2 separate regions of the Homo sapiens genome follow, and region 2 is linked to region 1. Evidence: promoter capture Hi-C in 16 types of primary human blood cells and fetal thymus (Javierre and others, 2016). All regions are on one chromosome and are shown on one strand. Each heading gives the region's core, a stretch centred on a gene start or on the middle of the fragment in contact. The rest is flanking DNA. Distances are from core to core; before and after follow the strand shown. Region 1 holds the start of YIPF4 (Yip1 domain family member 4). Region 2 overlaps LOC105374455 (a long non-coding RNA gene).

Region 1 (3,451 bases), core at 663-3,162:
AGATGGAACATACAATCGGGTTTTATACCAAGACATTCCATTGCCCAGGGATGGGCAGGAGACAGATGCCTTCCTCTTGTCTCAACTGCAAAGAGGCATGCCTTCCTCTTATACTAATCCTCCTCAGCACAGACCCTTTACGGGTGTCGGGTTGGAGGACGGTCAGGTCTTTCCCTTCCTACGAGGCCATATTTCAGACTATCACATGGGGAGAAACCTTGGACAACACCTGGCTTTCCTAGGCAGAGGTACCTGCGGCCTTCCGCAGTGTTTGTGTCCCTGGGTACTTGAGATTAGGGAGTGGTGATGACTCTTAAGGAGCATGCCGCCTTCCAGCATCTGTTTAACAAAGCACATCTAGCACAGCCCTTAATCCATTTAACCGTGAGTTGACACAGCACATGTTTCAGAGAGTTCGGGTTTGGGGCTAAGGTTATAGATTAACAGCATCTCAAGGCAGAAGAATTTGTCTTAGTACAGAACAAAATGGAGTCTCCTATGTCTACTTCTTCCTACACAGACACAGTAACAATCTGATCTCTCTTTCTTTTCCCCACAATCACCCATCAAATTGGCATGTTTTAAAAAATGGTTATATTCGGGCTGGGTGCAGTGGCTCACGCCGGTAATCTCAGCATTTTGGGAGGCCAAGGCAGGCAGACCACAAGGTCAGGAGATCGAGACCATCCTGACTAACATGGTGAAACCCCGTCTCTGCTAAAAATACAAAAAATTACCCAGGCGTGGTGGCAGGCACCTGTAGTCCCAGCTACTCGGGAGGCTGAGGCAGGAGAATCGCTTGAACCCTGGAGGCGGAGGTTGCAGTGAGCCGAGATCGCGCCACTGCACTCCATCCTGTCGACAGAATGAGACTCCGTCTCAAAAATAAATAAATAAATAAATAAATATTAGCCAAACATGGTGGCAGGGGGCTTGTAGTCCCAGCTACTTAGATAGCTGAGTTGGGAGGACTGCCTGAGCCCAGGAGTGTGAGGTTACAAGGAGCTATTACTGCACCACTGCACTCCAGCCTGGGTAACGGAGCGACCTTGTCTCTAAAACAAACAAAACCACTACATTTACTCATCCTTTAAGTACCAACATGTTACCTCCTGTGAGAAAATTTTCCAGAAATACCATTTAACACACTAATAGACATGTCTCTCGATTGCTCTATTGCTGATCAATTGTGTATTTCTCCAAGTTGGCCTCCTAATATACCCCAACCCCTCTTTCTTCAAGTTGGAAGCCACATTTATGTAGCTTGAATATTAAAGTTACGTATGTAAACATTTAAAAGCAGGTGAGTTTGTTAACTTCGGCAAGCTTATCAGTAGACAGGGCCTTCCAGTGAAAAGAGCACTTGACTAGAAATTAGGAGATTTAGGTACTGTCCTAAATCTGTTTCTACCTTACTTTCTCTGGCCTCAGTTTTCTCCCTCATAAAGGAATGTATCTACAGCCCTAGTCTCTGGGTGGCGATTTACGGCTTCTCTGCCTTTTATCTTCATTCTCCGATCCATCCCTCTTCATCTTACAGGTGAGGAAACTGCCATCCAGACATTACATATAACTTAGTCAAGATCCTACACTATTAATTAATGGCTAATGGCAAGGGAATCTTGAGATCCTGTACGGCGGCTGACCCATAAAATCTACCTAGTTCTAAAATTCTTTAACCCACCCACTTAACAAAAACGGAGGTAATAGGTAAACAAAACGCCAGGAAAGATCGCACTTAAAGGAACAAAAGCACCCAAGGAGGAAAAAGAGGCCTGAGATTTCCACGAATTACAAGTGAACTTCCTGTCCTGGGTAAACTTCCGGAATCAACAACAGGAAGACCCAATCAGAATCTTCCTCCGGGAGCCAATGGGAGAGCACATTACAAAGAGCCAATCCCAGCGCCGCTGTCACTGTTATGGTCCTGTCAGGGTGCCGGCGTCGTGGTGCTTGGGTGGTCGCCACCAAGAAGACTTTGGTGGGGTAGTCTCGGGGCAGCTCAGCGGCCCGCTGTGCCCGTTTCTGGCCTCGCTCGCAGCTTGCACGTCGAGACTCGTAGGCCGCACCGTAGGGCGAGCGTGCGGGTCGCCGCCGCGGCCGCCTCGGGGTCTGGGCCCAGCCGCAGCCTCTTCTACCGCGGCCGGTTGGGAGTCGCCGCGAGATGCAGCCTCCGGGCCCGCCCCCGGCCTATGCCCCCACTAACGGGGACTTCACCTTTGTCTCCTCAGCAGACGCGGAAGGTGAGGCTGAGCCCCTGGAAGGGCTATCACCCGGAGGAAGCCAGGGCCCGACGCCGTAGGGTCTTTCTGGTGCCGAGGTGGTCGTGGCCGGGTGGGGACAGGCAGGAAGCTGACTGGTGACTGCAGCCCACCACGCCTGCCGGGCCTTCCGAGAGGCCCCGAAGGACGGAGGGAGGGGTGTAGGGAGCTGCTTTTTAAAGCATCAAGTTACTCGGTCAGCCCTTGGTTTTCCCCATACCGTCTGGTGGCTGGTTTTTCTGGGTGGCTTAGTCTCTTCAATTGGACCCACAAAATCCTAAGCTTTTAGTTCTGGAATTACTCGCCCTTACTCAGAAAAAGGACAGATTGGCCAAGGGAGATCTCAAAGAATGAGAAAAAGGAAGGAGGGCTGTTTTCTTCTGTTATGTATCAACAGATAATTTTTTGGGGGGGGTCTGGGATCAGATTCGGCACTGCAAATACAAACTAAATGGTTTTTATTGAATTTGATGTCTTGCCCGAGTCCCCGTTTTCCTCGCATTTTGTAATGTTTCACCTCAGTATTCAGAGAAATTGACGCAGGTATATTGGAAGTTTAGTGTAAACCAACAATGTGTTTCCAGTAGCCTCTACAGATTTCCTTGTATTATTCTGAGGAAGCGATTGTGCTGGAGATATTTTCCTACAGCACAGGAGAATGTTTCCCTCCTATTCTCAGTTCCCTATCCAACTCATAACCTGGATATTATTCTGCTAGTCATTTTCAATTTTTTTTTTTTTCTTGAGCTCTGTCGCCCAGGCTGGAGTGCAGTGGCGCGATCTCGGCTCACTGCAAGCTCCGCCTCCCGGGTTCACGCCATTCTCCTGCCTCAGCCTCCCGAGTAGCTGGGGCTACAGGCACCCGCCACCACCCCCGACTAATTTTTTTTGTATTTTTAGTAGAGATGAGGTTTCACCGTGTTAGCCATGATGGTCTCTCGATCTCCTGACCTCGTGATCCGCCCGCCTCGGCCTCCCAAAGTGCTGGGATTACCGGCGTGAGCCACCGCGCCCCGGCCATTTTCAAATTTTTATTACACTTCGTGCACCAGTTATTTTCCAGTGACCAGACTTACTGGCTGCTATGAAATCATAAATTATGTTTACAGAAATTTCAGTCTGAGAAAGAACCTAGATTTTCCTTTTTTTTTTTTTTTTTTTTTGAGACTGAGTCTCGCTCTGTCGCCCAG
Region 2 (3,225 bases), core at 78-2,577, 1.3 Mb after region 1:
AAGAGTAGTCTTAAAGTGACTTAGGTATCGTTGAGAGATGATGAGCTTCCTGTCTAGAAGGTGTTCACCTAGAGGCTGAATAATTACTTAAGGGTACTCTTGTGAGAAGGCACACCCACAAGTGCCAGCACATGCCCTTTTACTGATGACTTTGATTCTAGATTCTTTCTCAAAAAAGAATATAAAATACCAACTTAAAACCCTTCTAGGGTCTGGCGCGGTAGTTCAGACCTGCAATCCCAGCACTTTGGGAGGCTGAGGCAGGACGATTACTTGAAGCCAGGGGTTCAAGGCCAGCTTGAGCAACATAGCAAGACTCTGTCTCTGTTAAAAAAAAAAAAATTAATTAAAAATGACTTCCAGGTGGGACCCAAGTGAGGCAGAGGGGCAGGGGCTGGCAGACCAGCGGTAAGCATGGCATATCAGGGCCTCACCATACGTCTCATTGCAATGAGCGTGTTTTAGGGCTTCACTGGTTTCTTCATGCCTTGGTTCATCCCTAAGGGTCCTAAGTAGGGAGTTATCATTACCATGTAGGTGACCTGTTCAGTTTGTTGCTGTCTCTTTTGGCTGATTGCAATCCTGGCCAACTCAACCCTCTCTTCAGACTGCAGTTGAAACATGAAATCATCTGGTATCCGAAGTGTCATTGGCCTTGAGGAAGACAGGCTTTACAGTGCTCAGTCTTAGCAGTCATGAGAAAAGAATTCCTTCTAGATGCAAAATCCAAACCACACCACTTTTCTTGACTTGCTTATTTTGGGCATCAGCTGCCTTAAACATTCACACCACATTTGAATGTCTAACACAATGCAGCATTTTTTTCTTCAACTTTTTTATGCTTTAATGAATTATGTGCCTACTTAACCTAAACTGTGCCAACTCCTCAAAATGATAATGCACTCTTTTGAGAGAGAAGATGCTTTTCTTCTGAGAAATGTGTTATTATGTCCTTGGAATTTGTGGATTTGTAGTGGCTCCTGCCTTCTCATAACATGGGAATCAGTGAACTATTTAGAACGTACTACTGCCTGACAAGACTCCAGTGGGGCAGTCAGTAGGAGAGGACGTTCAGAGGAAAGAGCTCTCCCAACAGAATTACACCAAATTATGTGTTCTTTTTTTTTTCTTTCTTCCTTTTTAAACAGAGTTTTGCTCTGTCGCTCCCGCTGAAGTGCAGTGGTGATCTCGTAGCCTCAACCTCCTGGGCTCAAGTGATCCTCCTGCCTCAGCCTCCCAAGTAGCTGGGACTGCAGCCGCTGGCCACCATGCCTGGCTAAGTTTTTTTATTTTTTGGTAGAGACGGTTTTGCCATGTTGCCCAGGCTGGTCTCAAAATCTTGGGCTCAAGCAATCCGCCCACCTTGGCCACTGCACCCCGTCATGAGCCACCACATCCGGCCCAAGGTATATTTTCAGCATGAATTTCTCATTTCTGCCATCTTTTGGAATAAATCATTTTTCTGTTTTCTATAGATAAAATAAAATATAAAATAAAGCTATTCTAGTGTCCCATCTTTGAGGGAGTCTGGTTACTGTCCATATTCTTAACTGCTGCTGCTACAGATTACCACAAATTTAGAGGCTTAAAACAAGACAGATTTATTATCTTACAGCTCTGGAGGTCAGACACCTGAAATGGATCTCACCTGGCAAAAATGGGCAGGTTTGCATTTCTTCTGGAATCTCTAGGAGAGAATCTGTTTTCTTCCCTGTTTTGGTTTCTAGAGGCCACCCACCTTCCTTGGCTTATGACTCCCCTCCTTCATCAAGACCAGCAACACCACTCCGACCCCTGCTACATGGTAGTCATGCCCTCTTACCTTCCTGCCTCCCTCTTTTACTTATAAGGACCCCCATCCTTGTGCCAGATAATCCAGAATAATCTCCCAACCTTAAGATCTTCAATTTAACCACACCTGCAAAGTCCCTTTTTCCATAGTCTCATGTTCCAACGATTATGATGCAGATAGTTTTCGGGGGAGGGGGGTCCATACCACACTGCCTTTCCTGGAGAGTAGAAACAATGAATGATCTTAAAGATCAGCCTTTTCTAGCTCTTCTTGAAGAGAATAAAGACAAATTATTTTTTTCACTTGTGAAAGAAATGTAAATGGGAAAATTGAAAACTGATTTCAGTTTCCAGAGGAACATGTTTTATAAGTCATAACCTTAAAAATTATTAGAAGGTTTTTAATTATATAGTAATTAAAAATTTATGCAGCTGACATCTTTAAGAAAGTTACTTCTAGCATCTATAGAAGTAATTTTTTATCATGGAAAAGAGGTAGGTATAAGCTCAAATATAAGATTTGTCATGGATTGGTTTCTAAGAGGTGATTAAATAGGCATCTAAAACAAATAACTTTTCTATCAAAAATAAAAGAACACTGTCTGAAAAATAGCAGCATTTTCCATTTTTAGTGAATTTATCTTTAGAATGACCCTCCAGCAAGGAGAAAATAGAAAGACCATAGATTTACTGGTGTTGCTCAGAAATGCAAGTTTGTATATGTTGCTAAATAAAGTCCTTTTCAGCTTGCACAGTGAAAGCACAACTCTTTTTTTTTTTAAGTTAGCATGTAGAATTAAATCTTGTATGGTCTCAAATACTTTATATTACTAAAGAATGCTGTTTTTTCAAATCATTCCTCTGGCTATGTTAGTATAGTTTCTGAGCCCTGGCAATTTTTAGAGAATATTACAAAGTTTGAGAACAACATCTTGCCTGTGTTTAAACTAAACAAAGGAAGTGCTATGTGTGTGAATGTACGTGTGTATATATATATATATATATATATTCACACACACACATTCACACACACAAATGTGTATATATATACAAAAACACACACAGAGATATATCCAGATCTTTCCAGAATAAAAGCTCCAAATTTGATTTCTGTTGTTCTCCCAACAAAGCTTCAGCCTAGTTGCCATGTTCTGCAATCAGGCACACAGTGAACCAGATAGAAACCCATCTAATTTGGATGCAGTAAGAGCTTATTAGACTGTAGCCTAGAGGTAATAAACTAGCCTTCACACCAGACCAAGCGTTGTATTTTGTTTGGCCTGTTTAATAAGTTAAAGAACTGAGCTTACATTTAAAAGTTTGGAGATTTTATTTTAAAAATCTGAGTGTCTGGCTTTTCTGGGGCGAAAACGTCTGCTGATTTGGCAGCATTGGAGGAACCTCATTGCCCATAAAGGCAATGATTGGCTTGGG

Evidence for each region. The method cuts DNA at HindIII sites, captures the fragments that hold promoters and counts their contacts. A CHiCAGO score of 5 or more calls a contact.
Region 2: a fragment that was not itself captured here is called in contact with the fragment with the promoter of YIPF4 in region 1 in 1 of 17 cell types (fetal thymus); the score reaches 5.3 in fetal thymus.

What each region holds. Positions count from the first base shown.
Region 1 is chr2:32,275,992-32,279,442 of GRCh38, forward strand. It overlaps YIPF4 (Yip1 domain family member 4), which reads left to right and starts at 1,913. Exons shown (of 6, transcript NM_032312.4): 1 at 1,913-2,243. The coding sequence starts at 2,165. RefSeq lists an enhancer at 1,028-1,773 and a silencer at 2,011-2,120. The HindIII fragment of the contact is 1,217 bases long and covers 1,325-2,541 here.
Region 2 is chr2:33,601,628-33,604,852 of GRCh38, forward strand. All of the region lies in intron 1 of LOC105374455 (a long non-coding RNA gene), which reads left to right. It also overlaps the pseudogene ATP6V0E1P3. Among named protein-coding and RNA genes, the nearest start is that of FAM98A, 3.9 kb to the left of the region's middle. The HindIII fragment of the contact is 3,183 bases long and covers 1-2,919 here.